Linked DNA regions of Homo sapiens: all the other regions are linked to region 3. Evidence: promoter capture Hi-C in human tissues and cell types (Jung and others, 2019). All regions are on one chromosome and are shown on one strand. The core of a region is centred on a gene start or on the middle of the fragment in contact, and the rest is flanking DNA. Distances in the headings are between cores, read along the strand shown.

Region 1 (4,156 bases), core at 309-2,808, 330 kb after region 3:
CTGGGAAAAGAAATAGTGTAAAAGGAAGAAAAAGAGAAAAAGAGAGAGAGACCATAAGAGAAGGGAGACAATGAAACAAAAAGTGCGAGTGAGCAGGTGAGGAGAAAGATTGAAAACTATGAGAAACAACAACTAAGAGACAAAGGAGAAGGGAGACTGCCTGGGTGCCGGAGCACCCACACTGTCCTCTTGCCCCCATCACTTGGGTTAAAACCATTGGAAATTCCACTATTGCAAATTTTGTATTAATCCTTGTATGTCTGCCCTCTCTATTGTTAGTCTACAGGTGTATCCAGCAGTTCCAGAAAGACAGTGACCAGCAAAAACAGGCCATGGTGACAATGACAGTTTTGTCAAAAAGAAAAGGGGGATATGTAGGGAAAAGAAAGAGAGATCAGACTGTTACCGTGTCTATGTAGAAAGGGAAGACATAAGAGACTACATTTTGAAAAAGACCTGTACTTTAAATAATTGCTTTTCTGAGATGTTGTTAATTTTTAGCTTTGCCCCAGCCACTTTGACCCAACCACTTTGACCCAACCTGGAGCTCACAAGAACATGTGTTGTATGAAATCAAGGTTTAAGGGATCTAGGACTGTGTAGGACGTGCCTTGTTAACAAAATGTTTACAAGCAGTATACTTGGTAAAAGTCATCGCCATTCTCTAGTCTCAATAAACCAGGGGCACAGTGCACTGCAGAAAGCCGCAGGGACCTCTGCCCTTGAAAGCAGGGTATTGTCCAAGGTTTCTCCCCATGTGATAGTCTGAAATATGGCCTCCTGGGATGAGAAAGACCTGACTGTCCCCCAGCCCGACACCCATAAAGGGTCTGTGCTGCGGTGGGTTAGTAAAAAAGGAAGGCCTCTTGCAGTTGAGATAGAGGAAGGCCACTGTCTCCTGCCTGCTCCTGGGAACTAAAAGTCTCGGTATAAATCCCGATTGTACATTTGTTCAGTTCTGAGATGAGAGAAAAACCGCCCTATGGTGGGAGGCGAGACATGTTTGCAGCAATGCTGCCTCGTTATTCTTTACTCCACCGAGATGTTTGGGTGGAGAGAAACATAAATCTGGCTTACGTGCATGTCCAGTCATAGTACCTTCCCTTGAACTGAATTATTAGATTCTATTGCTCACGTTTGTTGCTGACCTTCTCCTTATTATCACCCTGCCCTCCTACTACATTCCTTTTTACTGAAATAATGACGATAATAATCAATAAAAACTGAGGGAACTCAGAGACCGGTGCCGGTGCAAGTCCTTGGTATGCTGAGCGCCGGTCCCCTGGGCTCACTGTTGTTTCTCTATACTTTGTCTCTGTGTCTTATTTCTCTTTCTCAGTCTCTCGTCCCACCTGACTAGAAATACCCACAGGTGTGGAGGGGCAAGCCACCCCTTCAAACAGTAGCAACCTGCTTGGGTCCCCTTCCACACTGTGGAAGCTTTGTTCTTTCGCTCTTTGCAATAAATCTTGCTGCCCCTCACTCTTTGGGTCCACACGGCCTTTATGAGCTGTAACACTCATCGTGAAGGTCTGCAGCTTCACTCCTGAGGCCAGTGAGGCCACGAACCCAGTGGGAGGAATGAACAACTCCGGATGGGAGGAACGAACAACTCCAGACATGCCGCCTTAAGAGCTGTAACACTCACTGTGAAGGTCCGCAGCTTCACTCCTGAAGCCAGCGAGACCACGAACCCACCAGAAGGAAAAAACTCTGAACGTGTCTGAACATCAGAAGGAACAAACTCCGGACACGCTGCCTTTAAGGACTGTAACACTCACTGCGAGGGTCCGTGGCTTCATTCTTGAAGTCAGTGAGACCAAGAACCCACCAATTCCAGACACACCTTCATTTTGAGCCTATGTGTGTCTTTGCACGTGAGATTGGGTCTCCTGAATACAGCACACCATATGGGTCTTGATTCTTTATCCAATTTGCCAGTCAGTGTCTTTTAATTGGGGCATTTATCCCATTTACATTGAAGGTTAGTATTGTTATATGTGAATTTGATCCTGTCATGACGTTAGCTGGTTATTTTGCCCATTAATTGATGCAGTTTCTTCATAGCATCAATGGTCTTTACAATTTCGTATGTTTTTGCAGTGGCTGGTACTGGTTGTTCCTTTCCATGTTTAGTGCTTCCTTCAGGAGCTCTTATTGTAAGGCAGGCCTGGTGGTGACAAACTCTCTCAGCATCTGCTTGTCTGTAAAGGATTTTATTTCTCCTTCACTTACGAAGCTTAGTTTGGCTGGATATGAAATTCTAGTTCCAAAAATCTTTTCTTTCAGAATGTTGAATATTGGTCCCGACTCTCTTCTGGTTTGTATGGTTTCTGCTGAGAGATCTGCTGTTAGTCTGATGGGCTTCCCTTTGTTGGTAACCCAACCTTTCTCTCTGGCTGCCCTTAACCTTGCTGAATCTGACAATTATGTGTCTTGGGGTTGCTCTTCTCAAGGAGTGTCTTTGTGATGTTCTCTGTATTTCCTGAATTTGAATGTTTCTTTTTTCTTTTCTTGTCTCTAATCTTGTGTTCTCACTTTATTTCATTAATTTTATATTCAATCACTGATATCCTTTCTTCCACTTGATTGAATCAGCTATTGAAGCTTGTGTATCCTTCATGAAGTTCTTGTACTGTGGTTATCAGCTCCATCAGGTCATTTAAGCTCTTCTCTAGATTCTTCATTCTAGTTAGCCATTCGTTTAACATTTTGTCAAGGTTTTTAGCTTCCTTGCAATGGGTTAGAACATGCTCCTTTAGCTGGGTGTAGTTTGTTATTACTGACCTTCTGAAGCTTACGTCTGTCAAGTCATCAAACTTATTCTCCATCCAGTTTTGTTCCCTTGCTGGTGAGGACTTGTATTCCTTTGGAAGAGAAGAGACGTTCTGATTTCTGGAAGTTTCAGCCTTTTTGCTCTGGTTTCTCTCCATCTTTGTGGTTTTATCTACCTTTGGTCTTTGATGTTGGTGACCTATGGATGGGGTTTTAGTGTGGATGTCCTTTCCTGTTCTGATGTTGATGCTGTCCTTTGCTGATGTTGATGCTATTCCTTTCTGTTTGTTAGTTTTCCTTCTAACAGGCCCCTCAGCTGCAGGTCTTTGGGGGTTTGCTGGAAGTCCATTCCAGACCTTATTTTCTTGGGTATCAGTAGAGGAGGCTGCAGAACAGCAAATATTGCTGCCTGATCCTTCTTCTGGAAGCTTTGTTCCACAGGGGCACCCACCTGTATGAGGTGTCTCTCTGCCCCTACTGGGCGGTGTTTTTCAGTCAAGCTACATGGGGGTCAGGGACCCACTTGGGGAGGCAGTCTGTCCGTTATCGGAGCACGAACTCCGTGCTGGGAGAACCACTGCTGTCTTTAGAGATGTCAGGCAAGGACACTGAAGTCTGCAGAAGCTGTCTGCTGCCTTTTGCTCAGATATGCCCTGGCCCCTGAGGTGGAATCTGGAGAGGCAGTAGGCCTTGCTGAGCTGCGGTGGGTTCCGCCCAGTTAGAGCTTCCCTGCAGCTTTGTTTACACTGTGATCATAGAACGCCTACTGAAGCCTTAGCAATGGAGGACTTCCCTCCCCCACGGCCCCGTTAATTGATGCAGTTTCCGCACCCCCCCCACGGCCCTCTCCACCCTACCTGTCAAGCTCCAGCTCCAGCGGAGGATGCTCCAGGGACAGCGATGTCAGGACTGAGATGCAGGGGCTGCCTTAGAGTCTGGATGCATGGGGTAGCGGGGTGTGAGGCACCGGGCCGGGGTGCAGGGCCGGAAGGAACGTGCTGGATCTGGGATGCTACCAGACGGGGCGTCCCAAAGACCGAGGCAGTCCCGTACCTTACAACTCTCAGATGAGCTCCACGGTGGGCTTGGCCACCGTGACCCCTACTGCCGAGGCTGCTGCAGAGGAGCCGCCGCCACCCACACCGCTGTGGAGCAGCCGCACATGCTAGACTCCGCTTCAGTAAAGCCCGGGCGGTGAGTGCCGCCGCAGAGGCGAGCCCGCTCCAGACAGTGGCGGTTGCGTGAGCGCCCCTCCCCCCACCGGGCTTTGGAGCGCGGGCTCCCACGCCGGCCCGGAGAGCTGCCCGACTGAGCATGCGCGTCGCGCTGCCGAGCCTCCTGAGAGCCCGCGGGCTGGCGCCGACCTTTCTTGCCGGCTCCG
Region 2 (2,700 bases), core at 1-2,500, 360 kb after region 3:
ATGCTGCCTTGTTATTCTTTACTCCACCGACATGTTTGGGTGGAGAGAAACATAAATCTGGCTTACGTGCACGTCCAGTCATAGTACCTTCCCTTGAACTGAATTATGATGTAGATTCTATTGCTCACGTTTGTTGCTGACCTTCTCCTTATTATCACCCTGCCCTCCTACTACATTCCTTTTTACTGAAATAATGACGATAATAATCAATAAAAACTGAGGGAATTCAGAGACCGGTGCCGGTGCAGGTCCTTGGTATGCTGAGCGCCGGTCCCCTGGACTCACTGTTGTTTCTCTATACTTTGTCTCTGTGTCTTATTTCTCTTTCTCAGTCTCTTGTCCCACCTGACTAGAAATACCCACAGGTGTGGAGGGGCAAGCCACCCCTTCAAGCAGTAGCAACCCGCTTGGGTCCCCTTCCACACTGTGGAAGCTTTGTTCTTTCACTCTTTGCAATAAATCTTGCTGCTGCTCACTCTTTGGGTCCACACTGCCTTTATGAGCTGTAACACTCACCGTGAAGGTCTGCAGCTTCACTCCTGAGGCCAGTGAGGCCACGAACCCACCAGGAGGAATGAACAACTCCAGACAGGAGGAACGAACAACTCCAGACATGCTGCCTTAAGAGCTGTAACACTCACTGCGAAGGTCCGCAGCTTCACTCCTGAAGCCAGCAAGACCACGAACCCACCAGAAGGAAGAAACTCTGAACATGTCTGAACATCAGAAGGAACAAACTCCAGACACGCTGCCTTTAAGAACTGTAACACTCACCGCGAGGGTCCGCAGCTTCATTCTTGAAGTCAGTGAGACCAAGAACCCACCAATTCCAGACATACCTTCATTTTGGGCCTATGTGTGTCTTTGCATGTGAGATGGGTCTCCTGAATACAGCACACCATATGGGTCTTGATTCTTTATCCAATTTGCCAGTCTGTGTCTTTTAATTGGGGCATTTATCCCATTTACATTGAAGGTTAGTATTGTTATATGTGAATTTGATCCTGTCATGACGTTAGCTGGTTATTTTGCCCATTAATTGATGCAGTTTCTTCATAGCATCAATGGTCTTTACAATTTCGTATGTTTTTGCAGTGGCTGGTACCCGTTGTTCCTTTCCATGTTTAGTGCTTCCTTCAGGAGCTCTTATTGTAAGGCAGGCCTGGTGGTGACAAAATCTCTCAGCATCTCCTTGTCTGCAAAGGATTTTATTTCTCATTCACATACGAAGCTTAGTTTGGCTGGATATGAAATTCTAGTTTCAAAAATCTTTTCTTTCAGAATGTTGAATATTGGTCCCAACTCTTTTCTGGTTTGTATGGTTTCTGCTGAGAGATCTGCTGTTAGTCTGATGGGCTTCCCTTTGTTGGTCACCCAACCTTTCTCTCTGGCTGCCCTTAACCTTGCTGAGTCTGACAATTATGTGTCTTGGGGTTGCTCTTCTCAAGGAGTATCTTTGTGATGTTCTCTGTATTTCCTGAATTTGAATGTTTCTTTTTTATTTTTTTGTCTCTAATCTTGTCTTCTCACTTTATTTCATTAATTTTATCTTCAATCACTGATATCCTTTCTTCCACTTGATTGAATCAGCTATTGAAGCTTGTGTATCCTTCATGAAGTTCTTGTACTGTGGTTATCAGCTCCATCAGGTCATTTAAGCTCTTCTCTACATTCTTCATTCTAGTTAGCCATTCGTTTAACCTTTTTTTGAAGGTTTTTAGCTTCCTTGTAATGGGTTAGAACATGTTCCTTTAGCTGGGAGTAGTTTGTTATTACTGACCTTCTGAAGCTTAACTTCTGTCAAGTTATCAAACTTATTCTCCATCCAGTTTTGTTCCCTTGCTGGTGAGGACTTGTATTCCTTTGGAAGAGAAGAGACGTTCTGGTTTCTGGAAGTTTCAGCATTTCTGCTCTGGTTTCTCTCCATCTTTGTGGTTTTATCTACCTTTGGTCTTTGATGTTGGTGACCTATGGATGGGGTTTTAGTGTGGATGTCCTTTGCTATTCTGATGTTGATGCTGTCCTTTGCTGATGTTGATGCTATTCCTTTCTGTTTGTTAGTTTTCCTTCTAACAGGCCCCTCAGCTGCAGGTCTTTGGGGGTTTGCTGGAAGTCCATTCCAGACCTTATTTTCTTGGGTATCAGTAGAGGAGGCTGCAGAACAGCAAATATTGCTGCCTGATCCTTCTTCTGGAAGCTTTGTTCCACAGGGGCACCCACCTGTATGAGGTGTCTCTCCGCCCCTACTGGTCGGTGTTTTTCAGTCAAGCTACATGGGGGTCAGGGACCCACTCGGGGAGGCAGTCTGTCCGTTATCGGAGCACGAACTCCGTGCTGGGAGAACCACTGCTGTCTTTAGAGATGTCAGGCAAGGACACTGAAGTCTGCAGAAGCTGTCCGCTGCCTTTTGTTCAGATATGCCCTGGCCCCTGAGGTGGAATCTGGAGAGGCAGTAGGCCTTGCTGAGCTGCGGTGGGTTCCGCCCAGTTAGAGCTTCCCTGCAGCTTTGTTTACACTGTGATCATAGAACGCCTACTGAAGCCTTAGCAATGGAGGACTTCCCTCCCCCACGGCCCCGTTAACTGATGCAGTTTCGGCCCCCCGCCCCCCACCGCCCTCTCCACCCTACCTGTCAAGCTCCAGCTCCAGCGGAGGATGCTCCAGGGACAGCGATGTCAGGACTGAGATGCAGGGGCTGCC
Region 3 (4,226 bases), core at 565-3,064:
GTACCCATTCTCTACCTCTTTCTTTTCCCTGTTCAATTCTTCCACCAGACTCCTCCTCCAGACCTATATCTAGATTCAGGGTACTTTGTGGAGGGGAGGGGAGAAGATGATCTAACTCAACCTTCTCATTTCATAAATGGGAAAACCGACACCCCCTGAGAAAGGAGCCCTCTGAGGTCACACAACAAAGCTTGGATTTGTCCCTGAATCTTCTAACTTTCCACAACACCAGCTCTGTGAGCCCCCTAAGTTCCATTGTTTCAGCAGTCCAGAGGACCTCCCAGCAAAAAAGATCAGGGTCTCAAATGTCAATTGCCACTCTCTAGAGCTTCTGCTAACACAATTCTGGAGAGGAGCTCTGAGGGGAGGAGCACAGGGCACACCTTGACACAGCCACTGACAAGTAGAGACTTCATACTCCCCACCCACCCCCAACTTGGCCTTTCTGACAGCTAAACCCTCCTGCCACCATCACTATTTCTCTTAAAGGGCGACCGCTCGTTAACATATACAACTGCTCTGGGGTGCAAGTTGGAGACAACAACTACTTGACTATGCAACAGACAACTGCCTTGCCCACATGGGGCTTGGCACCTTCGGGCAAGGGGAGGGGCTTGCAGCACCCCCCACCAGTAGGTTCGCAAGAAGGCCCTAAAGATCCTGAAGCCTGGAGCAGGCCACAGGGTTGGTATAATCATAGCGGGAAATAAAGCACCTTCCAAGCTTGCCTCCAAGAGTTACGAGTTAAGGAAGAGTGCCACCCCTTGAGGCCCCTGACTTCCTTCTAGGGCAGTCTGGCCTGCCCACAAACTGACTTTGTGACCTGTCCCCCAGGAGTCAATAAACATGATGGAATGCTAGTCAGTCTGAGCTCAGCCAGGGGCAGGGAGGGACTGGGATGGGGGTGGGAGCTGCCAGTGAGGGATAGGGAGGCACCACAGCTCTGCTATGGCAGGAAGTGGGGATGCTGGGGGCTGGGAGTGGGCAATGGCCTGGCACACAAGGTCAGGGCACAGCCGGCTACAACAGGAAGGAATCCTAGAGGCCTGGTTCCCCAGACCACTCTCTAATCTCAGGGCAGTGCTTCCTCTAAAGCCTAGGATGGCGACCCCACCCTAACCCTAAACTCTGGGGATAGAGGCTGTGGTCCCTTTTCTTCCGGGCTCTCAAGACTCACTTGCAGGGCTCTGGCGAGGGATGAGTTGATGTGAAAGATCACAGACCTGGCCCCGCACGGTGCCCCCAGGCTCTTAGAGATCATGACGCCACATACCTGCCTCCACCACACACTCAGGTTGCTTCCTGGACATTGCTTCCCTTTTGATTCCCAGTTGCTGTTCGGGAGTGGAAAGCTATGGCTCCTAAAGCTATACACAGGCGCAACCCCTCCCACGGAGCATGAACAGTTCAAACCCGGTGGTAGTGGTTGCCAGCCAAGCGGAGAGGTCAAGAGAATGAGCGCCCCCAACTCTGACCTAGATCCCCACCAGGACCCACATTCTTCCCTACATTCTCGCCAGGCTTCAGCCCCCCGCCCTCGGTCTCCCCACTACCAAACGTTCACCTCCATTTGGACACATCCCATTGGGTCCACCCCAGCCCACCCCTTCGCATCTCTCCCAGGGTCCACATTGCCCTTCCCTGAAGGGGCTGAAGCGGGGAGGCGATGGTGTTAGGAGAGACAAAACCAAGTGCGGGAGGAGACCAGGGGAGTCCGGCTTTGGCACAGGAAGGGGCCGGGCTGTCCCGTCGGGGAAGTGGGAGGGGGCCGCGGCGCCGGGAGGGAAGCGCCTGTCGCCCGGGACTCTGAGCCAGAGCGCAGCGGCGAGCGTGACTCCGCCATCAGGTCCCCGGCTCCCTCCCCGGACCTAGCCCACTCCGCTGCGCCAGCGCCGCGGGCAGTGAGTTCGGGGATCAGGGGAACCCGGGGCTCCCTCGCACCAACCCCAAATCCTGCCCTCCTGGCGATGAGGCTTTTCTAGGGCACCTCTACAATCCGGGTTTGAGGGAGGAGGAGGAAAGGACTGAGGGATCCCCTCATCGCCAGCTGGGAGCGGGCTGGGAGGCCGCAGGGAGGGCCTGAAAAAGGAGACGGGATTGCCACGAGGTTGGGGGCGCGGGGTGGTAGCGGCTTTGAGCGGGTGAGAAAAGCTCAGGTGGGGCCCGCCGGGCCGAAGGAGGTAACCCGGCGCCCGGCCCTAGCCAGCCCCGGGGCTCGGGGCTGGGGAGATCATGGCCCGCCTCTTCAGCCCCCGGCCGCCCCCCAGCGAAGACCTCTTCTACGAGACCTACTACAGCCTGAGCCAGCAGTACCCGCTGCTGCTGCTGCTGCTGGGGATCGTGCTCTGTGCGCTCGCGGCGCTGCTCGCAGTGGCCTGGGCCAGCGGCAGGGTGAGCCGAGCCTCTGCTGCGGGAGGGTCTCTACCTGGGGAGCATTTTCGGGGTTGGGGTTTGTGGGGTCTTCTTTTCGATGTGTTTTCGTTGCTGGGAGCAGAGAAAGAAAGGACCATTGAGCCTGGCTAGGAACTGCAGTGACCCTGGGCAAGTCACTCTACCCTTCTGGGTCTGCTCAGGGAGAAAGCTGAGTCCTGGATGCTTCTCGTTTCTGTCCGGGTTCTGACAGACTTTATGAACATCCGTGGTCTACGGGTTCTACAATAAATCCATCACCGGATTTTCCAGTTTTCCAAAGGGGAAATTCTAGGAGGCCCCTGGGGAATTCATTTCCTGCCTTTCTCTCCCTCTTAGGGGATGTAGAGCAGTTGTACCCACAGACTCCCAGAAGGCACCCTCCACCGGGCTCTCACTGAGTCCCAAAGTAAACCCATGTCCAGTTTCTGTTTGGGGAGGAAGAAGGTCTTCAATCCAATTCTAGAAATGGCCTGCCCCTGGTTTTCTTTTCACTGCTTGGAGGCAAGGTGGGAAAATCACCGGGCGCGGCCAATCCTTGCTGGTCCACGCCTAAATCCGGGAAGAGGTGGGGACAAAATGCTGGGACGGCTGTGCAGCTTCTGCTTGGAGTTGAGGCAGGTGGCGAGATCGCAGCCCTGGTGGCCAGGGAGGTGCGGGACGCCGCGGGTCCTGGCGCCCCCTGCTGCTCGAGCGCTGCCTCGCGCCGCCCTTCAAGCTGCCGGCCGCGGTCCCCGGCTCCGGGAATCTCCCGAGCAAATTGGCCAGATTTGGAGACATTCATTCCGAAGTGCCTCCTTGTGAGCTTGGATCTATCTTTCACTTGCTTCATGACGCTTTGGTTCCCGTTTGACAGATAAGAAAACTGAGGCTCAGAAACAAATAGGGGATGGGAGCCAGATCTTCTGGGTAGCTGTCCCAGCAAGATAATAGGTTGGACAACAGGAGGCTGGGCGCTGTGGCTCACGCCTGTAATCCCAGCACTTTGGGAGGCCAAGGCGGGAGATCGTTTGAGCCCAGGAGCTCGAGACCAGCCTGGGCAACTTGGCGAGACCCTGTCTTCTACTAAAAATACAAAAAAAAAAAAATTAGCTGGGCGTGGTGGCGGGAGCCTGTAATCCCAGCTACTCGGGAGGCTGAGGCATGAGAATCACTTGAACCCGGGAGGCAGAGGTTGCAGTAAGCCGAGATCGCGCCACTGAACTCCAGCCTGGGCGACAGAGCAAGACTCTGTCTCAAAAAACAAACCAACCAACCAACAAAAACCATACGAGACTGCTGAGTCTAGATAAAAGCAGTAGGACACAAGCAATTTCAAATGGTTCAACCTAAAGTGAATGGCAAGCGGAGGTGCCTTGCCTCCTTTTCGTACTTAGGCTTGAGACACCTTTCAGAACTGGGCTGAGGGGCTGGGCTGCTGGCTTTTCCTTTATCAGGTTCGTTCCTTCTCCCTGTCACAATCTTGCCTCACACACCCCTGCCCACAGGAGCTGACCTCAGACCCGAGCTTCCTGACCACTGTGCTGTGCGCGCTGGGCGGCTTCTCGCTGCTGCTGGGCCTCGCTTCCCGGGAGCAGCGACTGCAGCGCTGGACGCGTCCCCTGTCCGGCTTGGTATGGGTCGCGCTGCTAGCGCTAGGCCACGCCTTCCTGTTCACCGGGGGCGTGGTGAGCGCCTGGGACCAGGTGAGAGGGGCGGCAGGCGGGGCAGCGGGGACGGCCCGGGCTTCGATCCCTCACCAGGCCTTGAATAGCCCCACTTGGGCCTTCGGCTTCCCGCGCCCCGCCCCCAGGTGTCCTATTTTCTCTTCGTCATCT

The links. Contacts are between HindIII fragments. The study calls those that stand out against the background at their distance.
Region 1: a fragment that was not itself captured here is called in contact with the fragment with the promoter of ADCY4 in region 3 in 2 of the 25 tissues and cell types used here (pancreas and small bowel).
Region 2: a fragment that was not itself captured here is called in contact with the fragment with the promoter of ADCY4 in region 3 in 1 of the 25 tissues and cell types used here (spleen).

Annotation. Positions count from the first base shown.
Region 1 is chr14:24,006,938-24,011,093 of GRCh38, reverse strand. It overlaps the pseudogene DHRS4L1. Among named protein-coding and RNA genes, the nearest start is that of DHRS4L2, 20 kb to the right of the region's middle. The HindIII fragment of the contact is 5,422 bases long and covers 1-4,156 here.
Region 2 is chr14:23,970,262-23,972,961 of GRCh38, reverse strand. It overlaps a transcript of DHRS4L2 not described here. Among named protein-coding and RNA genes, the nearest start is that of DHRS4-AS1, 16 kb to the right of the region's middle. The HindIII fragment of the contact is 4,031 bases long and covers 1-2,700 here.
Region 3 is chr14:24,332,659-24,336,884 of GRCh38, reverse strand. ADCY4 (adenylate cyclase 4) reads left to right here and starts at 1,814. Exons shown (of 25, transcript NM_001198568.2): 1 at 1,814-2,391; 2 at 3,897-4,094; 3 at 4,202-4,226. The coding sequence starts at 2,233. RIPK3 (receptor interacting serine/threonine kinase 3) reads left to right here. Exons shown (of 10, transcript NM_006871.4): 10 at 490-860. The coding sequence ends at 710. RefSeq lists silencers at 2,108-2,187, 2,258-2,417, 3,078-3,177. The HindIII fragment of the contact is 10,200 bases long and covers 1-4,226 here.